Regions from separate parts of the Homo sapiens genome. Here regions 2 and 3 are each linked to region 1. Evidence: promoter capture Hi-C in human tissues and cell types (Jung and others, 2019). All regions are on one chromosome and are shown on one strand. The core of a region is centred on a gene start or on the middle of the fragment in contact, and the rest is flanking DNA. Distances in the headings are between cores, read along the strand shown. Region 1 holds the start of SGCZ (sarcoglycan zeta). Region 2 has its middle 31 kb from the start of TUSC3. Region 3 overlaps SGCZ (sarcoglycan zeta).

Region 1 (4,444 bases), core at 527-3,026:
TATTGTGTGTATATAAATATATATATTTTTTTTTCTTGAAGGGAAGCAGGCAGAGGTGCCCATAGGCAGAGGGGCGCGTTGTCACCCCGGATGCTCCCTCCGGGCAGGCCCTCACGGCCAAGCAGGGGACCCCAGAGGGAGAGGGCGCGGCGCGGGGAACCCGCGGAGCGGCGGGGGGCTCCAGGCTGGTGGGAGACCGTGTGCGGCCGGAGCCTCCGCAGATGCCGCCCCTACCAGCCCGGCTCCCGCCTCCCCGCCCCCTGCCCGAGTCCCCGGACCTGCTCCCGCGCCTGGGGCTAGGGCAGGCTAGCCGTCCCCGGCAGCGGGGGTACCTCTCCAGCCCCTGCACTGCAACTGCGGGAGGAAACACTGCCCGCGGGCGGTGGGAGGGAAAAGGGGTCTCACGAAGTTCTGGGATAAAAACGGGCTGTCGTTGCAGATGCCTCTGTCACGCGAATCTCCGAGCGGAAATGCACTGTCCCCGTGCCGGGCTGGGGCACAGGCGGGATCGGAGCCGGGAAGAGGAGGCAAAGTGGCGGCGCAGCTCGGACAACTTTGCTGGGAAAGCAGGCGACAGCGGGCAGAGCTGGTGCCGCTGCCCCCCCCGGGGAGACGAGCCGGCAAGAGGCGCAGGGTCTGCACCCCAAATGCTGCCGTCACGGACCAGGAGGAGGACGGGGTGGCCGCTGGCGGGAGGAGCAGGCGGGGAGGGCGCCCAGCCCGGGAGTGCAGCCTGGCTCGGGAGAACCACCCTCCGTGTCCTCGGCCCCAGCAGGGGCGCCTGCGCCCGGGTGCGCGTCCCCCCAACGCCCCCTCGTCGTCCCGCGGGACCACCAACTACTCCGCGCCGCTGGAGGAGCCGCGGGAAGGAGAGGGGAGAGCAGGGAGCGCCGAGAAGCGGCCGCGAAGCCCGCCCGGACCCGCACGTACCTTGAGCTCCTCAATGTCCAGGTTCGTTGATCTGTCCATGGAGCGCAACTAAACGAAGTGGAGAGGAACCGGGCGAGTGGCACCCAAAAACAATCTAGTCTTTTAGTTTCCAGCTTAAACTCAGCTTTATCCTCCTCCAAGCCCCGGCAGCTCCTCTCAGTCTCATTCTCCGTGGTCACGCCGCCTCCACCGGGTTAAAAATAAGGAAAATAAATAAATAATAATGATAATTCACTTTATTTTACTTCCTCAAAGATTTAGTGACAGGTGATCTCTACCGCGGTGCAACACAGCTGAGTCGATTGAAACAGGGGCCAAAAGAAAAAAGGAAAAAAAAATCCACTCTATTTAAGATTATTTCTTCTTCTGCAATAAGCTTAGAACCCAGCGAATTGCTGCATCCCGAGAAAAAAAGCTGCTTCCCTGGTCAGCATCATGCGGCAAATTTCAAGCAAATGTGTTCAAACTGAAGAGAAGAGTGTATGATAAAAGGCTTCCTCCGTCAGGCTTACTCTGGTAGGTAATTTAGCTCCAGTCCCAGGCATTAGCAATGATCAGTTTCCCCGGCAAGATAACAGAATCCCCGAAGTCCTGCATAGACTTAAAAAATGTCTTGTAGCTGAGAGGTATTTTCTCAGTGGGGAAAAGAAGATAATCAAGTCAGAAGGGAACGTTCTCCTTTGAAGGTTATGCTAAAAGAGTTGAGGGAATAGGAGGTGGATCCAACGGAGAGAAAAAGAGGGAGAGAAAGAGAGAGGGAGAGAAAAATTTTCCTCCTGCTTCGCTGTTTTACTGGCCTTCACCACCAGGTGACTGACTTCGCTTCTCTCTTCCCACAGCCAACACTAAGGGGATTTCTCTCATCTGTCAAAAAGCAACATTTCCTCTCCAGACAAATACTATCGCTGGGTCTTAAAGCCTGCCCTGTGTCCGGAATCCACTAGGTGACAATCATTTTAATTCATTGCGTACATTGCTTCATCTTCCTGCAGATCTGGGAGGAACATGCTTGTGTGTATCACCCACATGTATTTAAATATACTCACTTCAGATCTCTGCTGCTTTCAGCATCAGATTTTTTAATTTAAAAAAGACTTTTATAGAAAGTGACAGATAAGAATATTAAAGGAAATTTCCTGGAACGATGCTTCTTATGATAAAGCAGTCTTTTATTAGAAAATTGTTCTTTACATAGATTCTGACAGGTCAGTGCATTTAACTTGTAGGTTGTAGATTTGGGGAAAGGGCTCGTTTTCTTCATTTAAATGTCTCAGTGTAAAACTTGACTTTTGAAGCGTTTTAAAGACTCTTGTTTTATTATGACACATAAACTATTGAGACTTAAAGATGTTTACAGATTTGGAAACAGAGCTGTATAAATACTTTTGTTTCAAAAAAAAAGTGTTTCTTTTTTTAGGATTTAATATGCACATTCCAGTCTCATGGTCTCTCTCTAACATCATCTCCGTCCTCTGCCTCCCTGAATTCCAGCCACCTAGTCTATTGGTCCACCTGCCAGTACTGGCTCTTTAATTCCCATTCTTGCCCCCTCGTTAAGGACAGCTGTCTCTCCCCCTAGTTCTTTATAGTTTTAACACTTCTGCTTCTGACTAAAGTCACCTGAGCAGAGAAAAATTTTTCTCAGGTGAGTCTGTCAGATATTCTCCTTTATCCTCTTGTCGTAGCAGCATTCTTAATTTACCATTATTTAATGTATGCTGTTATTATCCGTTTGTTTGTTTGACTCCTCCAATAGACTATAAACTCTTGAAGGCATGTTCTGGACGGTTCTTATTCACCAAATGTCCCAAGAGCCAAGCAGCTAATAAGCACACAAATGTGCATGGAACAGATAAATGTGTGGAAAGAAACCTTTACAGTTAATATTCTAATGTCTGAAACCCTGATGACTCCCCTCCTCCCCTCACCGGCACCAATGGAGCACATCCCAGTTTTTCTCCTTCTACTTTGCAGCTAAGCCTGGAGGGCTCAGCTTTCTCATGGAGGATGTCCATTTCATTAGTTTAAGCCTAGTCTATTCCATGCACTTGCCTAAGCTATCTTTCTTTCAAACTTTGACTTCTGACTACAGCTTTTAAGATTAACATCAAGTAGCCAAAAGTCCATAATGAGTAGGGCCAAACATCAGATTCTCAAAATAAACTTCATGTGCTTATAAGACATAATTATTTTGCATAATATATGATGAAAAATAATAAAGGTTCAGGCTGAGAGTAGATGAACTTATATAAGACTTTTAACTCTAAAAAAGAGCTTCTCTTCTAGAAAGTATCAACAATTCAACATGAACAAAGATAACTACTAGGATGATGCAAAAGTAATGGCAGTTTTTGCCACTGAAAGTAATGGCAGAAAACACAATAACTTTTGCACCAACCTAATACATAGGCTTTTGAAAGTCAAGTCTTTCCATATGAAAGAATTTGAAATTCCCTGTCAACTAGTCATTGCCTAACTTTAGAAAATTGAATAAAACAAGCAAATTTATTTTGAACATATTAGCAAACTGATATTATTTAAGGTAAGTTTTCAATTTGCAGTTGTGAAAATGTAGTTCAAGGAAGGTATCCATAGAAAAATGTTGATGTTTAAATATTATTCACAAAGGGAAAACTGCAGTTTCTTAATATGACATATTATAGTTGAAAGAAAAAATGATATTGTTCTTAATTTTATGTGTGTGTATATATATATATATATATAGACTCTAATTTATCTGTAGTGAATTTTAAAATATGAAATTATATCCAACATTTGATGTTGACCAGACTGGCATTATAAGCCAGTGGTCCCCAAATGATATGGCTTCTGGGTCCCCATAGAAATCTCATCTTGAATTTTCCCTCCCATAATTCCCACATGTTGTGGGAGGGAACTAGTGGGAGATAACTGAATCGTGGGGGTGGTTTCCCCCATGCCCTTCTCATGGTAGTGAATCAGTCTCGCGAGATCTGGCGGTTTTATAAGGGGAAACCCCTTTTGCTTGGTTCCCACTCTCTCTCACCGCCTCCAGGTGAGAAGTGCGTTTCGCCTCCCGCCATGATTGTGAGGTCTCCCCAGCCACGCAGAACCGTGAGTCCATTAAACCTCTTTTTCTTTATAAATTACCCATTATCGGTTATGTCTTTATCATCAGTGTAAAAACGAACTAATACACCAACATTTTTGGCATCAGGGACCAGTTTCATGGAAGACAGTTTTTCCACAGATGCATGGCACAGGATACAGGGGAAGGTTTTGGAATGAGACTGTTCCACCTCTGATCATCAGGCATTAGTTAAATTGTCATAAGGAGTGCACAGCCTAGATCTCTGGCGTGCACAGTTCATAATAGGGGGGTGCTCCCATGAGAATCTAATGCCCCCACTAATCTGACAGCAGGCAGAGCTCAGGTGGTACTGAGTGCTAACCCACCCACCACTCCCCTCCTGCTGTGTGGCCTAGTTCGTAACAGGTCACAGATGGTCAGGGGCTTAGGAGACCTCTGACATAA
Region 2 (4,766 bases), core at 1,924-4,423, 270 kb after region 1:
TTTTAATTAGAGGAAGAGGAAAGTTACTTATTATTATTTTTTCAGCTATCTCTCATATATACAACTTTGATCCCTTTATAGTTCATGCCTTATCAAAATCCTCTTAATAAAGAACTGCACAGTTGAAAGTGGAATATTTGCTAAAAGGCAGATAGTTAACTGGAAAAATACATGGAAAAGCATCTTTTTTTGTATTTTTCAGATTCTAGCTAATTTCTATAATTAAGGAAAATCAGGAGTCTCTCCCTTTTTTGAGTTTTATCAATTTTTAAATGTTAATTAAAGGTCTTCTAAAGTCAAAAGAATCTATAAAGATGTAAATCAGGATGATTTCGGAAACCTCCCATATACAAAATATGTTATACAAAATACAAAATACAAAAATATGTTATGAGCACTAAGTATTGAGAACTTGATAGGTATTGGAAATTCAACTAATAGAAGTCTTTGTACTCTTTAACAGTCTACTTGGGAAAAGAGAGAGAGAGGATGATGTAAGGAAAAAACTATAGTTAAATAAAAAAAAGGCAAAGTGAACAAAAAAAGATTAATGGCCTCCCCAAGAGGTACAGTCAGATGGAAAGGAGTGAAGGTGGGCACATTTAAATAGAGGAGGTAAAACTTGAGCCAAAATAACGAAAGATGAGTCAAAACTTGCTCTGAGGCCAGATGCAGTAGCTCAGGCCTGTAATCCCAGCACTTTGGGAGGCCGAAGTGGGTGGATCACTTGAAGCCAGGAGTTCACGGCCAGCCTGGTCAACATGGGGAAACCCGTCTCTACTAAAAATACAAAAATTAGCCAGGTGTGGTGGTGTGCCTATAGTCCCAGCTACTCAGGAACGTGAGGCAGGAGAATCTGCATGAATCCGGGAGGCAGAGGTTGCAGTGAGCCGATTTCACGCCACTGCATTCTGGCCTGGGTGATAGGGTGGGACTCTGTCTAACAACAATGACAACAAAAACAAAAAACAAAACAAAACCTTGCTCTGGACAAATTATGGGTAATAAAAAATTTTGTTGGATGTGATATCCTATTAACTGAGGTGAAGAACAAGAGAAATGAATGACAAGATCTCAGGGAGGGAGAAAGGACATTGGATTTAGAGAGATTATAGATAAATGTCTAGGTAACTTTGAGGTAGTTTAGGAATCGAAGCTTCCTTTTTTTTTTTTTTTTTTTTTTTGAGAAGGAGTCTCTCTTGTTGCCCAGGCTGGAGTGCAGTGGCGCCATCTCGGCTCAGTGCAAGCTCCGCCTCCCGGGTTCGTGCCATTCTCCTGCCTCAGCCTCCCGAGTAGCTGGGACTACAGGCGCCTGCCACCATGCCCGGCTAATTTTTTGTATTTTTAGTAGAGACCAGGTTTCACCGTGTTAGCCAGGATGGTCTCAGTCTCCTGACCTTGTGATTCACCCGCCTGGGCGTCCCAAAGTGCTGGGATTACAGGCGTAAGCCACCGCACCTGTCCTGAAGCTTCCTTTTTAAGTGGAATAGGAAAAAAAGTAGGCATTAATAAAGATAACAAAAACCAAAGTGTATTGAGCTTACTCTGCTACTCACTCTGTCAACAGCTTGTAATATATTACCTTAATTCTTCCATGTAGGGTTGGCATTATTACTGTCTCCAGTTTACCAAATAGGAATTTGAAAGTTTAGAAAGTTATATAACTGTCTCAGGTTCCAGAAGTTGCGCCTGGTAGAGTTATAATTCAAGATAAGATCTTCAGCTCAGAATGAGAGGGAAGTGTTGAAGGGTGTGAATGAACTGCTTTGAGGAATGAGAGAAGAAGCTGAGGGGGAGAGAGAAAAAAGAATAGCTGAGGAACAGTAAGGACCCAAGTAAGGATGCAGTCTTTTGCTCTGCTAAGAATCCACATTGTTTTCCAACAACAGAGTACAGAAGAGCAAATATTGGAGATGATAGTCTTTTCTTCTTTCTTGATGCTCTTGTCAATAAATTAAACCACAGCCATCTAAGTTAGTTTCCTTAACTTTTTTAACTGAATGCTACGTGAAATTCAAAATCATAATAAAGGCCAGACGTGATGGCTCATGCCTGTAATCCGAACGCTTTGGGAGGCCAAGGCAGGCAAATTGCTTGAGGTCAAGTGTTCGAAACCAGCCTGGCCAACATGGTGACATCCCATCTCTACTAAAATATAAAAATTAGCTAGGTGAGGTGGCAGGCGCCTGTAATCCCAGCTACTCGGGAGGCTGAGGCAGGAGAGTCACTTGAATCCCAGAGGCTGAGGTTGCAGTGAGCCGAGATTGTGCCACTGCACTCAAACCTGGGAGACAGAGTGAGACACCATCTCAAAAAAAAAAATCATAATAAAATAGCACAGAAACATTGGATTAAGTATTAGCGTGACAAATTTGTAGTCTTAACTGTAGCTTTGTACTTCTTAATATTTTGGACTTTACCTATTCATCTCTAAATGCAGATGATTTTGAAGCTCATATTACATCCCTATCCATTAACTGGCCTAATACAATAATCTGTAAGTGAGATGAATGTGAATCTATGAGGAGACTGTTTTCTTGCATATTAGTTGACCAAAATATGTATTTTTGAAATTTTAATAAGTTATTTCCCCAGTTATCTAATGCTTACCAGGAGAATCCAGAAAGCTTTGGTTGGCCTAGGCAGGAGTATTGCTTGGGGCCAAGAGTTTGAGAGCAGCCTGAGCCACATAGCAAGACCTCATCTCTACAAAAAATAAAAAGAAAAATAGCGAGCCATGGAGGTGCACAACTGTAGTCCTAGCTCCCTGGGAGGCTGAGGGGGAAGAATTGTTTGAGCCCAAGAGTTCAAGGTTACAGTGAGCTATGATCACACCACTGAAGAAAGATCTAAAATCAGTGCCTTTAGATTAATACATTTGCAAATCTTGAAAATGAAAAGCAAATTAAAGCCAAAAGAAGGAGAAAAATAGATACAATCAAAGTGGAAACCAATGCAATAGAAAACCTAAAAGAAAAAAGGGAAAAAGAAAAGAATTGGTAAAACCAGAAGCTGGTTCTTTATGAGATCAATACAATTGATAAAGTTCTAAAAAGACTGATCAGGGAAAGAAGAGAGGGTACAATTACCAATATCAGACATGAGAGCAATGACATCACTACAGAAATTACAGGTGCTAAAGTGATAATGAGGAAATATTATATATAAATGCATGCAGTAAATTCACAACTTATGTGAAATACACAAATACATAAAAGATAATTACGGGAGCTCACCCAGGAAGAATCAGACAACCCCAACACTATATATATTTTTTTAAATATCAGTTTGTAGTTAAAAACCTTCCCACACAGAAAACTCCAGGCCCAGATGGCTCTCTTGATAAATCTGATCAAACATTTGAGGAGGAGATGACACCAATTTTACACAAACTGTTCCTGAAAATTTAAGAGCGGGGAATGCTTTCTTATTCCATGAAGTCAGTGTTACTCTCATTACAAAACCAAGATACTATTTAAAAAAAAACAGAAAGACAAATATCCCTCATGACTATGGACACAAACATTCGAAACAAAATGTTAGCAAATTTAATTTAACAGTGTATGGAATCACTTTAAAATTGGCAGAGGGCTCATGTGTAGAATGCAAGATTGGTTTACTTGTTGAAAAATCAGTGAATGCCATTTACCTTATTAGCAAACTAAAAAGGAAAACCATTTATTGATTTCCATACAAGCAGAAAAATGTTTTGGAAAATTCAAGATCCACTGCGGATAAAACATTTGGCAAGCTAGGAATAGAAGATAACGTCCTCTACCCGATAAAGGACACCCCCCAAAAAACAAAACCCAAAACTTAAAACTAATACCAAACTTAATGGTGAAAACATGAATGCTTTCTCCCATAAGTTCAAATACAGGTCAAGAAGGTTCACTCTTACTACTCCTATTCAGTATAGTGCTGGAATGAATTTCTCTCCAGTAGAAGGAGGGAGGAAGGGAAGAAAGGAAGGAGGAAGGAAGGGAGGGAGGGAGGTGAGGAAAGGAAATCCAGATTGGAATAGAAGAAAGAGAAAGCAAAACTGTAGTTTTGGTAGATGATATGATTATGCATATAAATAGAAAATGTGATGGAATATACAAAATAGTTACTAGAAATATGTGAATTTAGCAAGGTTGAAGAACTCAAAGTCAATATACAAAAATGTATTGTATTTCTCTATATTAGCAATGAACAGTCAGAACCTTAAATTTTAAACACAATACCACCAATTATAATAGCACCAAAAATACTAAATACAGATAAATTTGATAAAAGGTGTATAAGAAAGGACTGGGTGCAGTAGCTCACGCCTGTAATTCCAGCACTTTGGGAGGCCAAGATGGGCAGATCACTTGAGGTCAGGAGTTTGAGAGCAGCCTGGCCAATATGGTAAAACCCCAACTCTTCTAAAAATAAAAGAATTAGCCGGGCGTGGTGGTGGGTGCCTATAATCCCAGATACTTGGGAGGCTGAGGAAGGAAGAACTGATTGAACCTGGGAGGCGAACATTGCAGTGAGCCAAGATTGCGCCACTGTACTCCAGCCTGGGCGACAGAGCAAGACAGTCTCAAAAAAAAAAGAAGTACTAAATGAATGGAGCATGGATCAGTAGACTCAATATTACAAAGATATCAATTGATCCTAAATTTATCTATAGATTCAATACAATCCCCATCCAAGTTCCAGTAAGCGTGTTTAGAAATTGACAAGCTGATTCTAAAGTTCATATGGAAATGCAAAGAACCTAGAAGATCCAGAACACC
Region 3 (4,625 bases), core at 147-2,646, 330 kb before region 1:
CCACTATGCCTGGATAATTTTTATTTTTTGAGATGATGTCTCACTATCTTGCCGAGGTTAGTCTCCAACTCCTGGGCTCAAGTGATCCTCCTGCCTCAGCCTCTCAAAGTGCTAGAATTGCAGGCATAAGCCACTGCTCCCAGCCTCAGTTAACTATTAAGAAGTGCCGCTTCAACTATTGGAGGAGCTAAATGCCTCCAATAACTAACTATTCTTAATAAAGAATAAAGGCTGGACAACAGTGATCCCAGCACTTTGGGAAGCCAAGGTAGGAGTGTTGCTTGAGGCCAGAAGTTCAAGTCCAATCTGGGCAACATAGTAAGACCCTGACTCAAAAAATAAAATAAAGAATAAAAATTGAGTGCGTCCATTAGGGTTGTCTTCCCTCTCTCTCTACACTACAACCTATATAAGCTACATGCACAGAAATGAGCCACAATTCACTAACTTTTCTGCAAAGAAGCGCTAATTCCACCTATTTCAACCCTACTATTAAAACATACCAAGTACATCCAAAATAATATTTAGGATGTATACAACCAAGAACAAATAACCATTTGAGGAGAAAGAATAGTTATTAATAGTACAGTATAATTAACTAATGCATTTTAGAAAGGGCAGTCTGAACAAGGAAAAATTACATATTAGGTTGAATCATGTGAAATTGGTATGCTTTTTCTTTTCTTTTTGGTCAGAAACAGATACATAGAAACCACTGAAAATAAAAATTTCTGGTTTTGTTACTTATGTAGCATATCTAAAGTCAGGGCAAAAAAGGTAGTTAATAGAACCTTTTCTGTCTCTTTGATGAGTTGATGGGAATAATTTGTGACAATTATATAATATTTTTAGGCATTATGGCAAATTTCTCTAAATCATTTTTATCTAAATTACCTCAATTGGTCCGCAAAATGTTCAGTAAACTTGGAGACACAGGTATGGTCCTTGTTTTGAAAATGAGGGGAAAAAGTTCAATTATTCAACAAATATTTACCTAGTGGCCATTGTATAGCAGACACTAGGCACATGGCAGAGTCTCCATGAGACTGTATTCTACCAAGGGGTATAATAAACAAAGAAATAGATAAATGGGCAAGTTACAGATTTTTGTTAAGATTCAGAGAACTGGCCAGGTGCACTGGCTCACGCCTGTAATCCCAGCAGTTTGGGAGCCCCAGGTGGGAGGATCACGAGATCAGCAGTTCGAGACCAGCCTGACCAACATGGTGAAACCCCATTTCTACTAAATACACAAAAATTAGCCGGGCGTGGTGACAGGCACCTGTAATCCCAGCTACTCAGGAGGCTGAGGCAGGAGAATCGCTGGAACCTGGGAGGCGGAGCTTGCAGTGAGCCGAGATCGGGCCACTGTACTCCAGCCTGGTGATCTGTCACCGTTGCAAAAAAAAAAAAAAAAAAAAGAGAGAGAGATTCAGAGAACCTAATTCACTATAAAAAATATTAATATGTCAGAGATACAAAGTTTCTGATATTCTGAATTCCTAGAATTCTTACTGCATTTATATGCGACGAATAGTTTGTTATTTAATTTCAAAGTGCATTGTATTAGGTTCACCAAATGTTTTTCTTGCAGATTAAACTTATCTCTATAATTATGCCTATGTATTTTATGTCATTATTTCTCTCCTAACACCTGGGACAATGCTTGACATAAAATCGGGACTCTAATGATGAGTCAATTTTTCCAAAATTATTAAGCAGAGGTTTGCAAATCATGTGCATCAAGTTGATTAAGTATCTCATCTAGTTTACACTATTAATCCATTCAGTTAATCATTTTACTTTAACATCCAGCCCACTCCTTATATCAATTACTATAATTTTCAATTAGCAGAGACCAAATTAAAGGAGGCTTGTTACATGCATTCACCTGTCCTCAAATTATGACTTGTTAGATTGTGAAGCTATCGAAAAATCCTCTAAATCCAGTTGTCTACCTGGCCAAATACATCCCTTTTAAATAATTCCTTTTTTGAAGTGTTTACATATTTTTCTTGGTGTGAACTTCACTGTCTTTAATTAATTTCGTGTTTTAACGTTACAACGTATTTCTCTTACTGAATAGAATTCTGCCTTTTTATATAAATTTTGTTTCTTTTTCTTTTAAAATCTTAAGAGGTTATCTTAAATTATCTGTGTCTGATTTATCTGTGCTAACCATTCCCAAGTCTTATATTACGTCATACTATTTTTTAGTAAATTTTATAAATCAATATGATTTGTTAGGCTTTCAATAAGTTTAACATAAATATTTAAGTCTTTTAGTAAATAATATGTCAAATTTTTAGTTTGGAAATATGGGAATTTTAATTATAAGGCATAGTTCTAACCAATAACTCAGCCTGGTTTGCATCAACACCAATTTGGAGATGTTTATTCAGCTATTTAAAATTTATTATACCTCATTCTCTTCAAAGCACTCTGGTTTGTCCATCTACTAGTTAAAAGTGTCCCTCAATTCTGTCATCCAGAAACCAACAACTCTCCATGGTGTTCTTTGACCAGTGTAGCTATATAGTGGAAACTCATATTTTGCACAGCATATTTCTATGCTTAGCCAAAAACTGTACTATATTTTAACCATTTAACTCTATCATCCCATAAGAGAACTTTTCAGTTAATCTCTCCATTTTTAATGCATTGGCCTCTATCTAGCCACTTATGTCCCCCACCCTGTGCTTTAATAAGAAGCTGTCTTATCTAAATATAAAACTGTAAGTTTATCATAATTACATTTCACCTTATTTGAGATGTTGCATTCTATAAAACTTATGACCCTATTTAGTCTTCAAAGGCTTGTACCATCTTCAAAACCAGTAACATATCTTCCATCTACTCATTTAATCATTTGTTAAATTTGATAAGGATAATTCCCAGTTGGTTAAAACAGTATTTCTCTAATTTATAATGATTTTCACCAATACACATTGATATATATTTAGTCAGTTAATTAAAATTTATTAAACATCTCTCACAGTACCATTTAATACATAAGGACACCAGGAAACAACTTAAAAATGGCTTAACTCAGTGTTTGTAGCATTTACCTAAAACTTATTTTTAGTAAATTTGAAATCTTACTAAATTTATTAAATCTTAAATTTAGTAAATCTTGAAATCTGTTTTTTTTAAATGTACATAAACATTTGTTAAAAACATTCCCAAAATTCTGGCTGGTATTGATAAACCATTTTTCTTAACATTAATATTTTCTTAATATTTGAATCTAGAATTCTAGTTCATTTTTTGGGTATACACTGATATTTTATGATGGACATTAACAGAAAACATCGGTAAAGTAAAAATAAAATGAGCTATTGATTCTTTTAAAGCACTTTGCCCAAAATTTCTTCAAATTTATATATTTTTATTATACCTATTATGAAAATAGGAAGACAATGATGTCATTTTATGCCTCATAATACATTTAAGAAATTATTCAGCTTGGCTTATATTGTACATTCATATTCTTATTAAAAACCAGATGGCTTTTTCAGAAGCAAAAGTTGAATACATCCTAGAAGATATATAAGCTTAATCAGTGACCTTAAAGTAGATATACTAACAAACATATTCTACAATCTATTCCCCAGAACAATTATCACACTTCTAACAATCATATCACTCATTTTTTCACGAATAATACACATCCTTACTTTGAGTATAATGTCATATATTAAAGGGATGCTTCTGCATATGTGCTTTACTATTTTTATAAACTGTCTTCATGAGAAAAGAAGCATTTTGACTCCTCTGACACATCTCAGGTTTAGTTTTCACCTTTTAAGAGAAAACAGAGTAAGCAGATAATGGCTGTGGCAGGGCTGTAATTCAAATTGTCAAAGTAATCACCATGGTGTCCACATCTGGCTTCATTAGAACCTAATGACTCACATTTCAAATCTACCTCCTGTCTACTAAATCCCAACAAAATCAGCGGATTCTGACTGATTTACTGATCTCCATATTTCCTTGGAATACGCAGACACCAATGCCTATTTTTCTTAGGAAAAGACAGCATCAAAAGAAATCTAGGACATTAAATAGCTATTGAATCAAGAGCAGCTGCACACTGAAGAAAGTATTTGGTAACTAAGAAAAAAATATATAGCTTCGTGTCAGCCATATAATCCTAGAAAGCTAAACCTGGGCTACCAATCACTAGTTAATTTAAAAACCAAATACAATTTTTATAAAAATAAAATTTCAGAAATGATAAATACTTCACTGAGAAATGTATCTTGAATTCCCATAATAAAATCTGGCTGCAGAGTGCTTTACTAATTAATGAAGTAATTTGTTACAATGAGAATATATCTTGAAATGTACACACCTAGGACCATAAAATAGTGCTTGTTTAAAAATATTTATATATATGAATATATGATTACCATTTTTACCTCTTTCAATCTATTCCTTTCATTTATTTCCTCAAGTATTAATTAGGTTCAGAAACAAGACACATCTTATCTCTACATGGAAATTCAAATAAAGCCTTGAAAGTCTAAATAATAAAAATTAATATAAGTAATATTTTATCTCTATACTGCAATGATAAATGGATTTTGCACAGGTCAACAGGTTTTAAAATATTAGTACTATTC

Evidence for each region. The method cuts DNA at HindIII sites, captures the fragments that hold promoters and counts their contacts. A contact is called where the count stands out against the background at its distance.
Region 2: a contact is called between a fragment that was not itself captured here and the fragment with the promoter of SGCZ in region 1, in 2 of the 25 tissues and cell types used here (dorsolateral prefrontal cortex and hippocampus).
Region 3: a fragment that was not itself captured here is called in contact with the fragment with the promoter of SGCZ in region 1 in 2 of the 25 tissues and cell types used here (dorsolateral prefrontal cortex and hippocampus).

The regions. Positions count from the first base shown.
Region 1 is chr8:15,236,655-15,241,098 of GRCh38, forward strand. SGCZ (sarcoglycan zeta) reads right to left here and starts at 1,777. Exons shown (of 8, transcript NM_139167.4): 1 at 931-1,777. The coding sequence starts at 969. The HindIII fragment of the contact is 17,338 bases long and covers 1-4,444 here.
Region 2 is chr8:15,507,297-15,512,062 of GRCh38, forward strand. It overlaps a transcript of TUSC3 not described here. Among named protein-coding and RNA genes, the nearest start is that of TUSC3, 31 kb to the right of the region's middle. The HindIII fragment of the contact is 6,907 bases long and covers 1-4,766 here.
Region 3 is chr8:14,907,343-14,911,967 of GRCh38, forward strand. The region is part of intron 1 of SGCZ (sarcoglycan zeta); the gene reads right to left. Among named protein-coding and RNA genes, the nearest start is that of MIR383, 56 kb to the left of the region's middle. The HindIII fragment of the contact is 6,182 bases long and covers 1-4,487 here.